7 separate regions of the Homo sapiens genome follow, and regions 1, 2, 3, 4, 5 and 7 are each linked to region 6. Evidence: promoter capture Hi-C in human tissues and cell types (Jung and others, 2019). All regions are on one chromosome and are shown on one strand. Each heading gives the region's core, a stretch centred on a gene start or on the middle of the fragment in contact. The rest is flanking DNA. Distances are from core to core; before and after follow the strand shown.

The links. Contacts are between HindIII fragments. The study calls those that stand out against the background at their distance.
Region 1: a fragment that was not itself captured here is called in contact with the fragment with the promoter of RBM39 in region 6 in 1 of the 25 tissues and cell types used here (dorsolateral prefrontal cortex).
Region 2: a contact is called between a fragment that was not itself captured here and the fragment with the promoter of RBM39 in region 6, in 1 of the 25 tissues and cell types used here (dorsolateral prefrontal cortex).
Region 3: the fragment with the promoter of EIF6 here is called in contact with the fragment with the promoter of RBM39 in region 6 in 1 of the 25 tissues and cell types used here (dorsolateral prefrontal cortex).
Region 4: a fragment that was not itself captured here is called in contact with the fragment with the promoter of RBM39 in region 6 in 1 of the 25 tissues and cell types used here (dorsolateral prefrontal cortex).
Region 5: a contact is called between a fragment that was not itself captured here and the fragment with the promoter of RBM39 in region 6, in 1 of the 25 tissues and cell types used here (neural progenitor cells).
Region 7: a contact is called between a fragment that was not itself captured here and the fragment with the promoter of RBM39 in region 6, in 1 of the 25 tissues and cell types used here (dorsolateral prefrontal cortex).

The regions. Positions count from the first base shown.
Region 1 is chr20:35,448,136-35,450,844 of GRCh38, forward strand. It overlaps a transcript of GDF5 not described here. Among named protein-coding and RNA genes, the nearest start is that of MIR1289-1, 4.6 kb to the right of the region's middle. The HindIII fragment of the contact is 8,774 bases long and covers 1-2,709 here.
Region 2 is chr20:35,319,912-35,322,752 of GRCh38, forward strand. All of the region lies in intron 7 of UQCC1 (ubiquinol-cytochrome c reductase complex assembly factor 1), which reads right to left. Among named protein-coding and RNA genes, the nearest start is that of FAM83C, 29 kb to the left of the region's middle. The HindIII fragment of the contact is 3,522 bases long and covers 1-2,841 here.
Region 3 is chr20:35,283,271-35,286,021 of GRCh38, forward strand. EIF6 (eukaryotic translation initiation factor 6) reads right to left here and starts at 1,502. Exons shown (of 7, transcript NM_002212.4): 1 at 1,456-1,502; 2 at 1,111-1,222; 3 at 906-991. The coding sequence starts at 1,217. It overlaps FAM83C (family with sequence similarity 83 member C), which reads right to left. Exons shown (of 4, transcript NM_178468.6): 4 at 2,461-2,751. FAM83C-AS1 (FAM83C antisense RNA 1) reads left to right here and starts at 1,981. Exons shown (of 2, transcript NR_109815.1): 1 at 1,981-2,045; 2 at 2,200-2,502. RefSeq lists a silencer at 1,232-1,421 and an enhancer at 1,514-2,064. The HindIII fragment of the contact is 18,620 bases long and covers 1-2,751 here.
Region 4 is chr20:36,141,210-36,143,909 of GRCh38, forward strand. It overlaps a transcript of EPB41L1 not described here. Among named protein-coding and RNA genes, the nearest start is that of EPB41L1, 12 kb to the right of the region's middle. RefSeq lists a silencer at 2,006-2,055. The HindIII fragment of the contact is 4,923 bases long and covers 1-2,700 here.
Region 5 is chr20:36,060,322-36,063,021 of GRCh38, forward strand. No RefSeq gene overlaps it. Among named protein-coding and RNA genes, the nearest start is that of NORAD, 11 kb to the left of the region's middle. The HindIII fragment of the contact is 8,994 bases long and covers 1-2,700 here.
Region 6 is chr20:35,740,907-35,743,854 of GRCh38, forward strand. RBM39 (RNA binding motif protein 39) reads right to left here and starts at 1,354. Exons shown (of 17, transcript NM_184234.3): 1 at 1,035-1,354. RefSeq lists a silencer at 734-833 and enhancers at 1,094-1,243, 1,257-1,942, 1,304-1,523, 1,694-1,793. The HindIII fragment of the contact is 31,582 bases long and covers 1-2,948 here.
Region 7 is chr20:36,085,770-36,088,779 of GRCh38, forward strand. No RefSeq gene overlaps it. Among named protein-coding and RNA genes, the nearest start is that of NORAD, 36 kb to the left of the region's middle. The HindIII fragment of the contact is 7,451 bases long and covers 1-3,010 here.

The DNA of each region.
Region 1 (2,709 bases), core at 7-2,506, 290 kb before region 6:
CTAATCACTGGAAACCTTGTTGTCATTCTTGAGCTCAGAAATCTCAGATCCTTGCTGGACTCCTCCACTCCTCCTTCCCTCCATCTAATTCTAATTCCCACTTTGTGTATAAGAACCCTAGCTGGTAAGTACTGTTATCCCCATATTGCAGCTGAGGAATTTGAGGCTCAGAAAGGGAAAGAGGGTTGCTCAAGAACATAAGGCAAGCTGGACGCGGTGGTGCACATCTGTAGTCCTGGCTACGGGACTTTTTGTTTTTTTCAAAAAAAAAAAAAAAAATATATATATATATATAGTTAAGGGCCCCCCCGACTTTTTTTTTTTTTTTTTTTTTGTCTCACTCTGTCACCCAGGCTGGAGTGCAGTGGAGCAATCTTGGCTCACTGTAACCTCCTCCTCACAGGTTCAAGCGATTCTTGTGCCTCAGCCTTCCGAGCAGCTGGGATCACAGGTGCACGACACCAGGCCCGGCTAATTTGTGTATTTTTAGTAGAGACAGGGTTTCGCCATGTTGGCCAGGCTGGTCTCAAACTTCTGGCTTCAAGCGATCCACTTGCCTCCACCTCCCAAAGTGCTGGGATTACAGGCATGAGCCATCAGGCCTGACCAAGGGCCCATTTTTGAGGAAGGAGAGGACCTGGTCCTGTGGGAACTGTGACTGGACATCCTTTATTGCCCAAGCCCTGAGTGATAGTGAAAAGATGTCATCCACTTCAAGAATCTCAAGCTTGGGTACGCTGGTCACTTCGAGCCTGACTTAGTGAGTGAGAGGGGGCTAGGACTGGAATAAGAACTGCCTACTGAGGCGGGGTCAGGACCAGGGAGAAAATATCCAGCTGACAAAGGGAATCCAACTAGGGAGATTGACACAATTCAACCAGATGGTGGCATCAGCAAGAGGAGTGTCCGGCATTCCTAACACATCCCATGCTCTAGCATGCTGCTGTGCCTTTGCACATGCTGCTTGGAATCCCCGCCACCACCCCACCCCTGCCACTTTGCTTAGCATTTTTTTTTGAGATGGGGTCTTGCTATGCTGCCCAGGCTGGTCTCAAACTCCTAAGCTCAAGAGGTTCTTCTGACTCAGCCTCTTGAGTGGGTGGGACTACAGCCACATGCCACCATGCCTGGCTTGTCTGCTTAGCATTTTTTTTTTTTGAGACAGGGTCTTGCTGTGTTGCCCAGGTTGGAGTGCAGTGGCTTGAACACAGCTCACTGCAGCCTCAACCTCCTGGGCTCAAGCGATCCTTCCTACCTCAGCCTCCAGAATAGTTGGGACTACAGTAGTGCACCACCACACCTGGCTAATTTTAGCGTTTTTATCCTTCACAAACAAGTCATAGTGGCCTGATGCTGTGTAGCCAGCTGCTCCCTCTTTATAGAATTTACTACACTGTGTGTGTGTGAACTATTTCTTTACTTGCTTGCCTGCCATGTGAGTTTGTGAACAGAGGCTCTGGACAGAGTTCATTTATTATTGTTCTTTGGGTCCCTCCCAGTGCATAACTCAACTTTTGGCACACAGTAGGTGCTCAATCAATATTTTAAAAATAATGAATGAATGGAACTTCAGCGCGGCAGCTCAAGCCTATAATCCCAGCACTTTGGGAGGCTAAAGTAGGAACATTGCTTGATGCCAGGAATTCAAGACCAACCTGGACAACACAGTGAGTCCCCATCTCTACAAAAAAATTTTTAAACAAATTAGCCAGGACTGGTGGCACAGGCCTATAGTCTTAGCTACTCGGGAGGCTGAGCCAGGAGGATCGCTTGAGCCCAGGAGATTGAAGCTGCAGTGAGCTATGATCAAATCACTGCACTCCAACCTGAGTGAAAGAGCAAAACCCTGTCTCTTAAAAAAAAAAAAAGAGAGAGAGAGAGAATGGGCCGGGCGTCGCGGCTCACGCCTGTAATCCCAGCACTTTGGGAAGCCGAGGTGGGCGGATCACTTGAGGTCAGGAATTCAAGACCAGCCTCGCTAACATGGTGAAACCCCATCTCTACTGAAAAAAAAAAAAAAAGCTGGGTGTGGTGGTGGTGGGCGCCTGTAATCCCAGCTTCTCAGGAGGCTGAGGCACGAGGATCACTTGAACCCAGGAGGCGGAGGTTGCAATGAGCCAAGATCGTGCCACTGCACTCCAGCCTGGGCTACAAAGTGAGACTCTGTAAAAAAAAAAAAAAAGAATGGACTCAGAGGAACAGCAGCAAGAGACTATCGTTTTGGTGCTCCAGACTGTTACCTTGCAGTGAGAAAGAAAGAGGAAAGTGGTTGACTTTTTTTCCCTCTATTTTTCCCTCTCTGTCATCCTCAGCTCACTTTAGTCACTCAACATGTCTCCATGTTAACATGGAGAGGAAGATGGGGGTGGGAAAAGTCTTCTTTGAACCAGTGTAATAGCTGGCTTAGTGCTTTCTGGGCCTCGCAGATGTTTATAGCCATCTCTATCCATCATCAAAGCATCATGGGGTGCTTTTATACACTCTTCAGGGGTTCCCTACTGGCCCCTCTCCTGCAGTTCCCTTAGCAAAGGCATCTATTAATGGCCATTTGTCTAGCTTCTTGTTCCTGGGGTCCCTTTATACCTCCAGGAAGCCCTACTGAACAGGACCTAATAGTCAGCAGGCTTGTCTCTTCTTGCTAGAGTTCACAGGCAGGAAGCATATCCTGGTCACGATACTCCCTAAGTGCAATGGTATGGATTCTGCATC
Region 2 (2,841 bases), core at 89-2,588, 420 kb before region 6:
ATACAGGGACTGATGGGAGATCAAGTTTTAACTCCTCCATGGACTCTACAAGGCTTCTAGTGATCTGCTCTTGGCCATCTTTTTTGCCTCCCCTCCTCTTGCCTCCCCATCTTACTTCACCCTGCAGTCAGTAAAGTATGTGCACAGATACATCATGCTGTCATCTATTTCTTAGTCATACTGCTGCCAGGAATTCTTCTCTTCTTTATCCACTGATGGAAGGGATGCTAACTCCTTATCCTCTAAGACTTAGCACACATATTTTCTCTACTAAGTCTGCCCTCTCCCCCATCTACAGGTGCCCCAAAGTGATTCAAGTCTGGAGACGGGTCCCATCATTCATTATTTACCAAGTGCCAATAACTGTGCTACAACTTTACACATTAGCCCACTTAAACCTTCCCAAGGACTCTAAGAGACAGGAACTGTTACTGTCTCCACTTTAGAGAAGAGGAATCTGATGTTTGGGAAAGTTAAAGCTAGACAGCTAGGAAATAGTGGGGTCAAGATAAGAATACAGAGCAATCCAACTCCATTGCCTACCTGTGTTGGAATAGACACTGGAAGGAATGTAGCTGCCCCTTCCTGTGCCCCACAGCTCAGGCTATCTGCAGAGGCAGAACTAAGAAATGCTAATGTGGTCTTGAGTAAACACAACTCAGAGATTCCAGTTCCAGTGGCAGCTAGAGACAGCCACCAGATGGGTCATCAGTGGCCGGTTACTAATACATCAGATATCCCTAGTAGAGCCAAGCTCCACTCCTGGGAAAACCTGAGGTTGAGAGTGGGTGTAATTATGGTGGGGGAATGGGAAAACAGAAGAAAGTTGGTATGGAAAACACTGATGAGCATGAAGGTGAGAATAAGCTTTAAGGTTACTGGCTTGAAGCAAAGTTGCTAACAGTAGCAGACTAAGAATTTGCTGGAATGAATGAATGACAAAGGACAGCTAGAGTTGCTGGCTGAAGCCTAAGGACTATATCAAATTCATCATAAGGCAACAATGCAACACAAGATTGTAGGTCATGTTTTAGTTTGCTGTAGTAGACAGTAATGCCACCACCAATGCTTTGCAGTGCCAACGCCATGTTCTACAGTCATTGTGCGGCAACAGGCTGATGTGCACTGAACATCAGCTAGCCTATTTAAAGTTCAGGTTAGAAATTAGCCCACTGTGGAATATTTTGTGAGATACTTAGAAACAGAGTAAGAGTAGACAGACAAGAGAGACGGGGGACATGGAGAGACCAAATAAAAAAGTCTACCTGTTAACTCACATGCATTACGACTGAAAGATCTATTGAGGGTCTTTTAGCAATGATGACAAAATACAAACAAAACTGTGTGTGTGTGTGTGTGTGTGTGTGTGTGTGCGCGCGCGCGCGCGCACGCTCAGGCACGCATGCATATTGAGCAGTTCCAGAAAAAGTTGTTAATACCAAGAATAAAAAGAAAAATATTTTAAATGAAAGACAATTTCTTTTTCTCTTTTTAGAAAATAATGTGAACATTTAAATAGAGTATGTTCCCGTTGCGATGAAAGGCCAACCTAAACCCAGCATGAGGAGGTCCATTTTAAAATCCATTTTAAACATTTCAAACTTTTAATGTACAAGGGAAGCTTGCTATGATGACATGCTGTTTAAAAATATTCCCTTATTGGCTGGGCAAGGTGGCTTACGTGTATAATCCCCATGCTTTGTGAGGCCAAGGCAGGTGGATCACTTGAGGCCAGGAGTTCAAGACTAGCCTGGACAAAAAAGTGAGGTCCTGTCTCTACAACATAGTAATAATAATACAAACCCCTTTCTTATTTATTTTGAAAATTCTAGTTTTGCTGCTTGGGATCTACATGTTCAAGACTGCATAGCCTGATAATGTGCTGAAAAACAAGGGACATGGTTGGCAGACAGAATTGCAGAACCAGCAGCCCTAATTTCTATATAGTCACGAAGTACAGGAGTCCTTCCCTCAGGCTTGGAAAATAGCCAAGAGAGAAGAGATGTATGTCCTCAGAAATTCTAGTCATTTGTCCAGTTGAGAAAACATGAGAACACATAATATTAAGTCCACAATCATCTTCAAAAGGAGCTGATGAGGTACACTACGGTTCTGGGATGATCAAACTACCATGGCAATTTAACTTTCGTCTCTTTTAGGGCATTTGAATAAGGGGAACATTATAGCTATAATCTACTTTGGTTTCTGGAAGCTTTTTGTAGTATTCCACATGACAAGTCTCATGCATACTCATTAGAGAAGCCAACACCTGGCTTGAAAGAGTCGCAGTTTCAACAACAGCACTGATGGTGCGGAGTCCTAAAGGAAATAATCCTGGGTACTATCTAAAATCCGTACTGATAATAATGATGACAGTGATGGTCGTAACAATGATTACACAATGCATTTAATAATATTTTCATTTTATTATCTTATTTGTGCCTCACAACCACAACCCTGCCCTCGAGGAGCTCACAGCCAAAATGCTATTGTTGTCCTGATTCTATAAACAAGGAAACAGAAGCTCAAAACTGTTAAGTGGCCAGGTGCGGTGGCTCACGCCTGTAATCTCAGCACTCTGGGAGGCTGAGGTGGGCCGATAACCTGAGGTCGGGAGTTCGAGACCAGCCTGGCCAACATAGTGAAACCCCATGTCTACTAAAATACAAAAAATTAGCTGGGCATAGTGGCGCATACCTGTAGTCCCAGCTACTCAGGAGGCTGAGGCGGGGGAACCATTGAACCCGAGAGGCAGAAGTTGCAGTGAGCCAAGATTGTGCCACTGCACTCCAGCCTGGCAACTGAGCAAGACTCTGTCTCAAAAAACAAAAACAAAAACAA
Region 3 (2,751 bases), core at 252-2,751, 460 kb before region 6:
AGCGAAAACTCCATCTCAAAAAAAAATAATAATAATAATAAAAAGGAAAGGACCAACGACCAGAATTAACAGTGCTGACAGGTAGGAAGGTAGGGTAGAGATGTGGTAAAGGGAATTTAAGATTCCAACGTAACTGAGCAGGAAGACCGCATATCTTAGCTAATCTTTACAGAGACAGAAATGGATGCTTAGAAAGAGAAAGCACCTTGCCCAGTCAGTGGCAGGGAGAGATGAGATACAAATCCTCGGCTGGGTATAGTGGCTCTCGCCTATAATCCCAACACTTTAAGAGACCAAGGTAAGAAGATCACTTGAGCCCAGGAGATCAAGGCCAGGCTGGGCAACACAGGGAGGCCGCGTCTCTACCAAAAATGTAAAAATTAGCCAGGTGTGGTGGCACGTGCCTGTGGCCCTAGCTACCTGGTAGGCTGAGGTGGGAGGATCACTTGAGCCTAAGAAGTTGAGGATGCAGACAGCTGTGATCTTGCCACTGCACTCCAGCCTGGGCGAAAGAGCAAAAATCTGGCCTCAAAAAAAAAAAAAAAAGAGAAAAATCCTTCTCCAACACTAGGAACTAGGTGTGGAACTTACTGAGTCACTTAGGTCAAGTCTCAACTTCCTCATCAGTCAAGTTAGGCCAGTAACTCCTACCTTCTAGTGTCTTTGTGACGAAGGAATGAGAACAGGAGTGAAAGCACTTTACATTATTTGTTATTACTATTATCCAGCAGCCTTTGCTAGAGGGTTGCCCCGATCTCCTGACGCTTGGCCTGAGAGATTCTATAGTGCCCAGAGATAACAGATGATACCCTGGGAATCCCTAGGTCACTCCGGGTTCCCTCCGGGGGTGTAATTAATGGTGCTTGGAGACCACTCCCTCCCTCGGCGTCCTCCACCTGCCTTACCCACACACATGCGCCCGATGATGCGGCAGCCGGCGATAGACGCGTGCACCACGGGGATGGTATCGGAGAGCTCGCCCTCGAACACACTGTAGGGACATGGACTCGGTGGTGGCGGGGCAGAGGGGCCGGCACCCTCCCACTGCCGGAGCTCTTGACTCCTGCGCACGCCTCCCCGCCACCGTAAGCCCCGGGGCTCCCGCCGCACCTGTAGAAGTTCTCTGAGCCTCCGATCGCTACCAGACAGTAGGTGTTGGTGAGCTTGGCAAAGCAGCCGATCTCACAGTTGTTCTCGAACGAAGCTCGGACCGCCATGAGGCCTAGGGGCGGCGGAGGCGGGAGTTCAAGGCCGGCGGATCCTTTCCCAAGTATCCCGGCCTCCGTCCCTCAGGCCCCGCCGCGACCCCGCCCCTCTCGGCCTCCCGGCCCCTCCGTCCTCGGGTCCCGCCCACTGGGCCCCCACCAGAACCTCCGGCCCTGAATCCTCTGGCCCCCACCCCTCCCGACCCAGGACCGGAGCTGACCCTCCCAGGTTCCCCTCACACCAGCTTACCAAGTAACCAGTAACAAGCTCCGCACGCGGCGACTGTACCTTGGACTCCCTAAAAAGGTTTCCGTTTCCACTTCCGTCCAGGGAGACTTCCGGGAGAGCCCGGCGCTCCCCGCCACGCATCCAGCCCCTCTACCTCCGGCCTCCGGCGGACTCTATGGTCGCGAGCGGTCTGGGCGCGACCCCGCCTGGCCCCACGCCTAGCCTGCTCGCGTTCATTCATTCATTATTCATTCAGGAGCTTTTTAGGAGCTGTCATCGACCTAGACCTCCGGCTGGTCGGTTGTGAGGCATGAGGGAGAGGAGGGGCCAGGAGTGTCTCGCGGAAGGGTTGATGATGGAGGTATTGATGGAAATGAAGCCGGAGGAAGGGCAGGTTTGGGGAAAGGGATGAGTCCAGCTGTGCCTTGAGGGACAGAAGTCCATGTCTGGAGCCCAGCAGGGGAGTGGAGTGCTGACGAATGAGATGAGGGGCTGAAGACGGGTGGACTAGAAGAGGCTACCCATGGAGAGAGTTCCAGGAGGCAGAAGTGCGGCCAGACCGAGGCTGGAGAAAGAGCGCAGCCAGAGACGGAAAGGCAGCCAGGCTGCAGGTGCTGGAGAGAGGGGAGGACTGAGGAAGCAGGGGCTCAGGAAAAGGCTGGAAAGGGGTCCAGGGTGGGCAAGGATGTGGGTGCTGGTTGGCTTCCACGATGTGCCTCTCGCACGGCCTCTATCACTCACTCAGCAGCCAACTTCTGTCCCCAGGATAGTGATGGGGGCCAAGGGCCCTGCTGCACACTTGGACAGGATGAACTTGGCCCACATTTTGTAGAATCTGCAAAAGCCCCGGGTTCTCTCAAAATGTCACAGTGGTAACTTGGAGCCCCTGGACTCCCCCAATTCCTCCTTCGGCATTCACCCTCCTCCAGGGGTTTCCCCATAATTGGCCTGAATGGTGCCCTTCCCATTCCCCCAACGTGTCCCTCCCATAACTCCTCAAAGTTCAGGATACACCAGGCGCTGTGATTCACAATAAAGTCTGCCTTTATTGATGTGTATCATGTTTACTATCCCGGGTAAGTGGTGAGTTCAGGAAAATGGCCCACAACCTGTCACAGCCTGTACTTCAAGAGACACTCAGCAAGATGATGACGACGACAATGATGATGATGATGATGATGACTCAGCAAGATGATGACGACGACAATGATGATGATGATAATGATGATGTGTGTGTGTGTGTGTTTCCGGGTATCCACATACTCTGCTCTTCCTCACTCATTCACCTCAGACCCACTCAGTCCTCTTTAGGGCATC
Region 4 (2,700 bases), core at 189-2,688, 400 kb after region 6:
GTGCTGCTGTACTTGCTGGCCCTCAGTTTTCTCACCAATGGGAGGGCTAAGTGAAACATGTATAATAAAGTGCTCTGTAAAAAGGAAGACAAAGTAGAAATGTGAAGGTTCACTACGACTGTCATCTTTATTATTTTTTTTTTCTTTTACTGTCAGATGAGGGAATGGGACTCTGTTAGGTTTCTATGCATGAATAGGGAGCCCTGGAGGGTACTTCCGCTGTGAGGGCCTGTGTCAGGAGACTGTGGGAATTGGCTAGATGGGCCCCATTAGTGAAACTCCAGGGAACAACTGAAGAGGGCAGCAAAGTTCAAAGCCAGAGAGGCAGCCCAAGGGGGGCTGTGGTTGCTGAAAGGTGGGGGCTCTAGTGAGATTCTAGGAGGGACCTTCAATGGTTCAGGCCAGAAGCTTTGAGAGAGGTGAAGGTAACAGACCTTTCTTATATAAATATGTTTACACATATATACCAGAAAGTAAGCAACAAAACAAGACCCAAATGTACACAAAAGAAATAATTCCACTATCATAAAACAACGTCTGGTAACATGTTTTAAAATATTTCCTGTTTGCTTTTTTCTAGGCATGTACACATACATACATATTTTATAGAAATTGGGGCCAGGCACGGTGGCTCACGCCTATAATCCCAGCACTTTGGGAGGCTGACGTGGACAGATCACTTGAGGTCAGGAGTTCGAGACCAGCCTGGCCAACATGGTGAAACCCTGTCTCTTCTAAAAATACAAAAATTAACCAGGCGTGGTGGCGGGGCACCTGTAATCCCAATTACTCGGGAGGCTGAGGTGGGAGAATTGCTTGAACCCAGGAGGCGGAGGTTGCAGTGAGCCGAGATCATGCCACTGCACTTCAGCCTGGGCAATAGAGCAAAAACTCCATCTCAAAAAAAAAAAAAAAGAAAAGAAAAAAGAACAAAAAACGTATTTTGTAGAAATTGGATCATTTGTTACGTACCATTTTGTCTCTGCTTTTTTACCTGTATTGTGTTAAGAACATGATTATATAGCCACATATAGATCCACAACATTATTTTGTGTGGCTGCGTAGTATTTCAGCATATGTATGTATCACTATTTTTATAACGTAGCCACTATTATTGGACATATATATTAACTCCAATGCTCTACTTTACTCCTGTATACAGTGCTTAGACAAATGTTCTTATAGCCACATCTTTGTGTCATTCATTGTTCCCTAAGGATCCATTCCTAAAAAAGGAATTTCTGCGTTAAACGGTATGCACACTTTTAAGGCTTATCATGTACTTTTTCAACGATGAAAGATGAAACCAGTTGATAGCTGCATTGACACTGTCTGAATCTGCCCAATTTATTGGCGGCTCATTATCTTAATAACCCGGCAGCGGTAGCTTAGTGGGTGGGAGGCTCACTTGCACGGATTGGGCGGAGGGAGGCATCAATAGCCACTCTAAAAGGACTTTGCAAAGAGAGGCCCCTGGGTGGCCTGATGGGGCTGGGTTGGACTGTGTTGAAGGGGCTTACCTGCCCGGGCTGTGCTGTGCTGTGCTGTGTTGGCCCGACTGTATTGGTTATGGGAGGCTGTGCTGGGCAGTTGGGCTGGGTTGGCTGCACTGGCTCAGGCCTGGCAGTCTTGTCCCTGGTGTGATCCTGGGCTCAGCCTGGTGTGATCAGCGTAGTCACCAATCCAAGACATTCATTCTAGAAGCTGGCATGGCCTCCGTGGCCATGCTGACAGACTTGTCCATTCACGTAGTGGAGAGTGATTCATCAGAGCTGGTGGTGGCAGCAGTAACTCTGACAGAGTGGAACTGCTCTCACCATCCTGTCACTTGGCCTCTAAAAATAACTCCTGCCGGTTCCGAGTGACCGCACCGCCAGGTGTCTGGAGGTGCAGTCCTGTGGTTGTGGCTATGTGAGGGAGGGTGTGTTTGTGTGTGTGTGTGTGTGTGTGTGTGTGTGTGTGTGTGTGTGTGTTGGGGATAGAGGTGCCATCTGGGGGCCTCTTGATTGGTTGACCTCTGAGCCAGGGCTTTGGGGTGGGAGTATGAGAGGCAGACCAGGCTCGCTCTTTTCTACCCTCTCATAGCTGGGGACAGAGACAGCTAGTGGGGGTAGCAGTATTTTTCAGGACTGTGTGCTCACTCCCTGCTGAAAAAGGGCAGAGAGAGTGGAATGGAGAGGGTGACTTCAGAGGCAATATGACAAGGGTGAGGCAGGCTCTGGGGAAGCACAGCATTTAGCCAATCAACATCTATGTCCCACAAAAGCCCACATAAAAGCTCATCGTCTTAGTGAAGTCTTTAATGTAGGGTTCCTTTAAATTAGATACAAAATACAAAATACACACATATACAGCTAATTTCTTATCGTGGCTGATTAGAGATCATCTAGCCCAAGTCTTAACCAAGGGGATTATCTATCTATCACTCAGGGGGTGATCTATGCATGGGCTTCATGAGCTCTCTTGATACCTGAAAGATGATAAAGGTAGGTATGTGTGTGTGTGAGTGTGACTTTGTGTGTGTGTATGTGTGTGCAGGTGCATACCCATGTACATTTTTCTAGGAGAAGCTCTGCAGTTTTCATTGCATTTTCAAAGGAAATCAGGACCGATAAAAGGTTTTCTTTTTCTTTTTCTTTTTTTTTCTTTTTTCTTTTTTTTGAGACAGTGTCTCGCTCTGTTGCCCAGGCTGGAGTGCAG
Region 5 (2,700 bases), core at 133-2,632, 320 kb after region 6:
TAAATAAATAAATAAATAAGGGAGAAGAGACAAATGATCCTTAAAGAAGAATTCTAGATAATGTAGGTAGATACAACCCCTTCAGGTTGTGGAGCTTAATTCTCCCATTGAGTGTGGGCTGCACTTAGTAACTTGCTTCCAAAGAGTGGAAAGGGAGGAAAAACAAGCAACTTCCCAGGGGAGAAACTGGACAGACACTCGCTTGGCCAGGTAATCAAGTCATGTCGCTAACATGTATCCTGATGAAGTCATGTCAATAACATGTACCTATGATTTGATGAGAAGAGCAGTTTACCTCTATGACATGTTTCCCCAAACTCATAACCCCAGTCTAACTATGAGAAAAGCATCAGATGAACCCAAATTGAGGGGCACTCTGTAAAATACCTGTCCAGTACTCCTCAAAGCTGTCAAGGTCTTAAAAACCAAGAAATGCCTGAGTAATTGTTACAAGCCAGAAGAAACTAAAGGGACATGATGACTAAATGTAGTGTGGTGTCCTAGAAGGGACTCTGGAGCAGAAAACAGGTGGAATTTAGTTCATAGGAATGTACCAGTGTTGGTTTCTTAGTTGTGACAAATGCCATAGTAATGTAAGGTGGTAATAATAGGGGAAGCAGGGTGAGGGCTATACAGGAACTCTCTGTACTCTTGAGTATGATGGTTAAGTTCATGTGTCAACATGGAGGGTGGTTTTGGATGATATTAGCATTTAAATGGTTGAACTTGGGTGTGGGCGGGCCTCATTTGATCAGTTGAAGGCCTGAATAAAACAGAAAGACTGGCCTCCCTAAGCAAGATGGAATTCTCCGGCAGGCTGCCTTCAAACTGCACCATTGGCTCTCCTGGGTCATCAGCCTGCAGGCCCACACTGTGGGATTCGGGCTTGCCAGCCTTCATAATTAGGTAAGCCAATTCTTTATGATAAATCTCTTTTATGCACACACACACCGTATTGGTTCTCTTTCTCTGGTGAGCCCTAACACAATGGGAAATTTCTGTACTCTAAATCAAAGACTTACATTTATTTTCTGTAAATGTAAAATTATTTTAAAATAATAAGTTTATTTTAAAAAGAGAGAAGGCTGGGTGCGGTGGCTCATGCCTATAATCCCAGTACTTTGGGAGGCCGAGGTGGGTGGATCACCTGAGGTTGGGAGTTTGAGACCAGCCTGGCTAACATGGTGAAACCCCATCTGTACTAAAAATACAAAAATTAGCCAGGCGTGGTGGCGCATGCCTGTAATCCCAGCTACTTGGAAGGCTGAGGCATGAGAATTACTTGAATCCATGAGGCAGAGGTTGCAGTGAGCCGAGATCACGCCACTGCACTCCAGCCTGTGCAACAGAGCGAGACTCTGTCTCAAAATAAATAAATAAATAATAAAAAGAGAAAAAAAGAGGCATGAATTTTGAAGTCATGTAGATCCATTTATTTGTTTCCTGTGGGTGCCAAAACAAATTACTACAAGCCTGGTAGCTTAAAACAACAGAAATTTATTCTCTCATAGTTCTGGAGGCCATAAATTGAACATGAGTTTCACTGAGCTGAAGTCAATGTGTTGGCAAGGCTGTATTCCCTCCAGATGCTCTGGGGAAGAATCCGTCTGCCTCTTCCAACTTCTGGTGGCTGCCAACAATCCTTGGCTTGTGGCCACATCAGTCTCTGCCTCCATGGTCACATTGCTTCCTCTTCTTCTGTGTGTGTTGGTCTAATCTTCCTTTCCCTCTCTCTTATAAGGATATGTGTGATGGAATTTAGGGCCCACTTGGCTAATCCTCAATGATATCCTCATCTCAACATTCTTAATCACATCTGCAAAAATTATTTTCTCAAATAAAGTAATGTTTACAGTAGTTTCCAGAGATTAGGACTTGATATATTTGGGTGGCCATTATTCAGCCTACTACACCCTGGCTGTGTGAAATGTAGGACTTTTGTAGTATGAGTAAGCCGGCTCTATACTTAAAAATAAAAACTATGACATAACCTGGTTTTAAAAAATGTTCATCTGGGTTCCACCTGAAATCATCGTATTATGACCACTAGTGAGGTAGGAGGCAGGACTCGAGTCTGGAGGTGGGGTTCAGACACTGGACCAAATTGAGGACTAGCTAAAGCAGGGATGGGGTAGAAGAAGCTTTCCATAAGACATGCCCACCAGTGTGCCATGCCAGTTTACCATTGCCATGGCAACACTCAGAGGTTACTGCCCTTTCCATGGTAGTGACCCAAGACCAAGAAGTTACCACCTTTTTCCTAGAAATTTCTGCATAATCTGCCCCTGAATTTGCATGTAAATAAAAGTGGGTATAAATATGACTGCAGAACTGCGTTTGAGCTGCTACTCTAGGCACACTGCCTATGGGGTAACCCTGCTCCACAAGAAGCAGTACGTCTGCTGCTGCCGAACACTGCCACTTCAATAAAAGTTACTATCTGACATCACTGACTTACCCTTGAATTCTTTCAAGTCAAGAACCCTCCTGGGCTAAGCCCCAATTGGGATCACCTGCCCTGCCTTGGTGGGACCCAAGCCACACTTTGCCAAACAGTGTAAGAGATTGGTCTTAGAGGTCAGAGAGTTCTACATTCTAACTCTGGCAAGCCTGTGACTTTGGTTAAGTCAACATATTCCTTGAAGACTATCTCTTCATCTGTACAAGAGGACACTAGCCCTGACTCAGAGGAATGCTGTC
Region 6 (2,948 bases), core at 104-2,603:
ATTTCTTGAGTAAACATTTCTCTTACAATGTGAAACAAGTTTCACTCTTGTTGCCTATATCGTCTAACATTTTCTCTAAACGCCTAGGAAAAGAACAAGACGATTCCGTGAGTAAACATTTTTCTTTTTTTTTTTTTTTTTTTTTGAGACGGAGTTTCGCTCTAGTTGCCCAGGCTGAAGTGCAGTAGCGCGATCTCGGCTCACTGCAAGCTCCGCCTCCCAGGTTCCAGCGATCCTACCACCTCACCTCCCGAATAGCTGGGATCACAGGCGCCTGCCACCACGCCCGGCTAATTTTTGTATTTTTGGTAGAGACGGGGTTTCACCATGTTGATGAGGTTGGTCTCGAACTCCTAACCTCAAGTGATCCGCCTGCCTCTGCCTCCCAAACTGCTGGGATTACAGGCGTGAGCCACCGCGCCCGGCCTGGTAAACGTTTTTCAAATCGACTGAATTTTTCTTCTCAGCCGACACACTCGAAAACTTAAGAAAAACCTCCAAAAGCCCTACAATTAATGACTAAAGTGACATGCACTTTAACCAGGTTTGGCTTACGTAAGTAAATCCAAAACGCCTCTTACACGAAACACACGAAAATGAAGACTTCAATATCCAATATTTAAAACTCTGCTGTCAACTCCAAAAACAGAAACTGGGAGACCCGAACGAGAGCGCCTCTTTCCGGGCAAAAACCCGCGCTGCCATTTTAGGGGCAAAGAGAAACTCCCTCCATTGGGAGGGGTTATGAGCCAAGGCAGCGTTCAACTGGCGCCATGTTGGGAGGTCGCGGCCGGCCCAGGCCTCGAAGGAGACAGGTCACCATTCTACCGCGGCCTCTCGGGGGTCCCTACCGCCCCAAGAATCCAGACTATACCCGACTGGAAAATAAGGGCGCGGTCACTGAAACAGGGCCGATTTCTCGAAAACCACCCCCCACCCCGGTCGCTAAAGACCTCCAAAAGCGCCCCTCAGCCCAAAATGGAGCCAAACCTCGAGAAAGCTGAGATAATACGCGGGTCCGCAACGCCCCGTACCTGTTCCGGCCTTCGGGCGCCTGTGGTGCTCGTGTTCGGGAAGAGATTGCTGCTGCTGCTGCTGCTGCTGCCGCCGCCGCCGCTTCTGTTGCTACTGTTAAGCCCCTAGGCCCAGGCCGCGGAACCGCCCAGCCCGAATATCGGGTTCCAAGGACGGCTAGGCCCGAGAGAATCTAAAAAAAACAATGGAATTAGAGAAGCCCACGCGGGAGAGCAGGACGGCGGCTTCGGCAGCTCAGGATCCACCCCTGCGACAGCGTCGACAAGCTCCCTGAAATGGCGGCCGCTGCTTCCCTGTACTCACATTCACCAGCACACATACACACACACAAACACACGGGGCCTCACAGAGCCCTCAGCACGGGCTCTCGCGAGAAGCTGCCCCAAGCTCCAAATTTGAGCGGCCGAAGTATCGCGAGACCTAAGTATGGCTCCGGCGACCGTAGCCCAATCTCGCGCAATGATTGCGCCACAGATATTCCCATCCCCCATTCAGTGAGGCGCCTTTCACTCCCCCTCCGCGTAAGCACCCAAATCTCGCGAGACAGAGCGGGTCTCTAGGGCAAAGACAGTTGGTAGGCTGCCTGTCAATCTTTCAGAGAGCTCTTCGCTGAGTGGAGCTCAGCGGTCACCTCCCCCTCGTGGCGCCTCCTCACGGCCATCTGAAGATTCCTCCGGCACAGCCGATCGCCCCCGCTCCGGCCTCCCACACAGATGGCTGTCAAGGTCGCCATAAGGCAACCTAGTCCTTATGGCGATAGGATAAAACGGCCATATTCAGATTATCCGCTGAGGGTGGAGAGGAAGTGGAAAAGTGTATCAGAAGGCCAGAAGAAGAGATCTTTAGGGGTAGGGGGAGAGGGGGAGATAATAAAAATAGATTTCCCTGTCATTTGGAGCCAATGGCGCGGCCTCCACTGTCGAGCTTTGAAACAACCTTGGAAATAGTGGAGAAAAGCAAAAAAAAGGTGGAAAAAATAAACTCTTGCTTCCCTTGGCATGGGATCAGTTTTGTGCCCCGAATTTAATCAGCTCTTGTGTCAGGGTTGCTACCGTTCCTTCAAAAATGTTCCCCTTCCTGAATATTACTGGACGATTTGGTGAAAAAATAAGACACCCCCCCAACAAAAAAAAAAAGGCCCCCTTCCCCCTGGGACCTGGCTCCTCTCCCCTGAAGTCTTCTAGATGCCAGGTAATTAGAGTATGAATTAGCCATTTGTTCTTTGGTCAGTACTGTGTGAGGTTTCCTCCTAGATGCTGGGAAAAAAAACTGGAAAGAAGTCTTCAAAGCAAAAATCTTACCCTCTAATCTTAACAGTCTAATGATTGAGGGCAGAAAAGATTGGAAATGAGACGCCTTGATTAGTGTAACTAGCTGCTGCAACACTGTGTGACCTTGGACAAGCAAATTAACCTCTCAGAGGGGATCTTTCATTTCCTGATTTAAAAGAGGACGTACTTAGTAGCTAGTCTAAGCTACTTGAGACTGAGGAAGGCAGGTAATGCTCAGTACTGAATTTTTAGAGGTTAGCAGGGCATGTCTGCCCAAGTGGACCCTCAGTAAATTAATGAATGAAGGCTCAGAAGGGCTATAGTGAAGATTAAATGATATAATGTCTGTAAAACGCCTGGTAAATATTTGATCTTCAAAACAGCTAACTTCTGTTTCTGCTAAACAAAATTATTTAGAGCAAATATAGATGTTAAGTGGTTTTGCCTCTCAGGTTAACTTTACACACAGGTTAGGATTTATCTTAGAGGATTATTAATAACAGTTATTTTGTAGTTAGAATACTCCCTTAATCCTTTTTCTGAAAATTCAGATCCTCTTTTTATTTTATTTCTGAGACAGTCTCGCTCTGGAGGCTGGGCGCAGTGGCTCATGCATCTAATCCCAGCACTTTGGGAGGCCGA
Region 7 (3,010 bases), core at 187-2,686, 340 kb after region 6:
AATGTTTGCAGTATTTTGGGATGAAAGGAGTGAGGGGCACAAGCTGCAAGTGGACTGTGCTCCTGAGGATGAGAGCACTTTGCCTACTTTTCCACCCCTCTAAACTAAGCTTAGTATCTTGTGCTTGGGTGACTCTGACAGGTCAGCCCCGCATGACTCACTCTGTAAGCCTTCAGCGCGGGTCACCACAAGGTCCTGGTTTAGGGTGTGTGAGTTGGTGGGTGGGGAGGGGAGGTGGAAATTAACTTTCACCTTTCAGGAACCTTTCCCTTCCCCAGGAGAAGGACAAGTGTAAGTCCTTCCCTTAAGTAGTCTGGGCAAGTCTCTACTCATCACTCCTAGGAGGACTGGGGAGGTCCTGGAAGGTGCAGAGGAGGAAGCTCTGAGAAGTAGAAACAGCACCAAACTGCACCATAGAAGACTTTACTAATTTGTCCAAATGACAGAATTTACCTTCTCTGAGCTTCAGTTTCCCCAGCTATAAAGTGGCAACAACACTGATCTTGCCCTCCTCCCTAAGTTGCTACAAAAAGACATAGTAAAAATCTTTAGGGTGCCGGGCAGGGTGGCTCACGGCTGTAATCTCAGCACTTTGGGAGGCTGAGGCAGGCAGATCACCTGAGGTTAAGAGTTCGAGACCAGCCTGGCCAACATGGTGAAACCCCATCTCTACTAAAAATACAAAAATTAGCCAGGCATGGTGGCAGGCACCTGTAATCCCAGCTACTTGGGAGGCTGAGACATGAGAATCGCTTGAACCCGGGAGATGGAGGTTGCAGTGGGCAAAGATAGTGCTACTGCACTCCAGCCAGGGTGATGGAGCAAGACTCCATTTCAAAAAAAAAAAAAAAAAAAAATCTTTAAGAATGCAGCCTTGAAATCGCACAGACTTGTACTGGAATCCTTCTCATAAGCTATGTGACTGAGAAAGTTATAGATCTTCATAAGCCATTACAGCTACCTCCCAGGGTGAGAAAATTATGTAAATAAATTTCCTAACATATACTAAGTACTCAATAATGTTGGCTATTCCTATATGAGATGATGAAACTTATTATTATATAGGGAAAGTCCCAGACGAGGACCCATTTTTGAACATTGAAAGGAGGGAGTACAGAGGCTAACTTTTCTTAGAATTGGTTGCTTCTTTTAGCCAAGTATAAGGTGTGGCTCAAAGGAATGAGGAAGCAGTTAATGAGGTGACAGGGCACAGAATACTGTTTGTCTTCACAGATCTTGGGGGAGGGATACAGTGGTTAGCTGACCTTCCCAAAAGATCAGAGATCCTGGTGTCTTGTCCACCCACAGATGCAGGCCACTTGACTCTGTCCTGTCCCCTCCTACCAGTCCAGTCACCACGTTCTGGTGAGGCTGCCTTTGAAATAATAATAACAATGGTACTTGTACTAATGATATTATTACTTTGAAGTGTATGAAGGCTTTCTAATACATCATCCCAGTTATCCTTCATTATCTCTCTCCCATTCACAGAATCCAGAGTTAGGAAGGATATTGCAGATCATTCTGCATTTTACAGATGGGATCTCTGAAATTTGAATAAAGGAAGGGATCTACTCAAGGGCTGGGATTTACCTGAGACTACACAATAAGTTAATGGCAGGGGCAGGACTAGAACCTGCAGCTCCTGACTACCAGCCTAGTGCCAGTGCCTCTTTCAAGTCACACTTGCATTGGCTTTCCATTCCCATGGCCTCCCAGTCTATTCTTTTTTTTTGTTTTTTGTTTTGTTTTGTTTTGTTTTGAGACGAGTTTCGCTCTGTCGCCCAGGCTGGAGTGCAGTGGTGTGATCTCGGCTCACTGCAACCTCCGCCTCCCGGGTTCAAGCAATTCTCTGCCTCAGCCTCCCAAGTGGCTGGGATTACAGGCACCCACCACCATGCCTGGCTAATTTTTTTGTATTTTTAGTAGAGACAGGGTTTCACCATGTTTGCCAGGCTGGTCTTGAACTCCTGACCTTGTGATCCACCCTCCTCGGCCTCCCAAAGTGCTGGGATTACAGGCATGAATCACCGTGCCCAGCCCCAGTCTATTCTTTTATCTCCTGGACCACTGCAGTGGTTTCCTACTGGTCCTGCCTGCCTCTGATCCCTCCCCACCCATTTCTTCTACACATACAGTCACATAATTGTCTGGAAGCACAGCTTTGATCTTGTCTTTCCCTTCCTAATAGAACTTGCCCATTTTTTCAACTTGAGAGGTCACCAGGATCCTAGTTCAATTTCCCAATGAAGACTTAATCTTTCCTTGAATACATATATTGACAAGGAGTTCATCACTCCCAAGGTGGTCCATTCCATTCTTGGGTAGCTCCAACTGTTAGGGAGTTCTTTATAGTGAGCTGAAATTGTCTTCCTGGATATCCCCCCACTGGAGGTGATGTGATGGAATTCTCTTTTTTTTTTTTTTTTTTTTGAGACCGAGTCTCACTGTGTTGCCCAGGCTAGAGTGCAGTGGTACAATCTCAGCTCACTGCAACCTCCGCCTCCCAGGTTCAGCAATTCTCATGTCTCAGCCTCCCGAGTAGCTGGGACTTACAGGCATGAGCCACCAAGCCTGGCTAATTTTTTTGTGTTGTTAGTAGAGACAGGGTTTCACCATGCTGGCCAGGTTGGTCTCAAACTCCTGGCCTCAGGTGATCTGCCTGCCTCGGCCTCCCAAAGTGCTGGGATTACAGGTGTGAGCCATCACACTTGGCCCCTTTTTGTTTTTTTTTTTTTTTAGACAGAGTTTCACTCTTGCTGCCTAGGCTGGAGCGCAGTGGTGTGATCTTGGCTCACTGCAACCTCCACCTCCCAGATTCAAGACATTCAGCCTCCCAAATAGTTGGGATTACAGGCATGTGCCACCACGCCCAGCTAATTTTGTATTTTAGTAGAGACGGGGTTTCACCATGTTGGCGAGGCTGGTCTCGAACTCCTGACCTCAGGTGATCCACCTGCTCGACCTTCCAAAGTGTTGGGATTACAGGCGTGAGCCACAGCACCTGGCC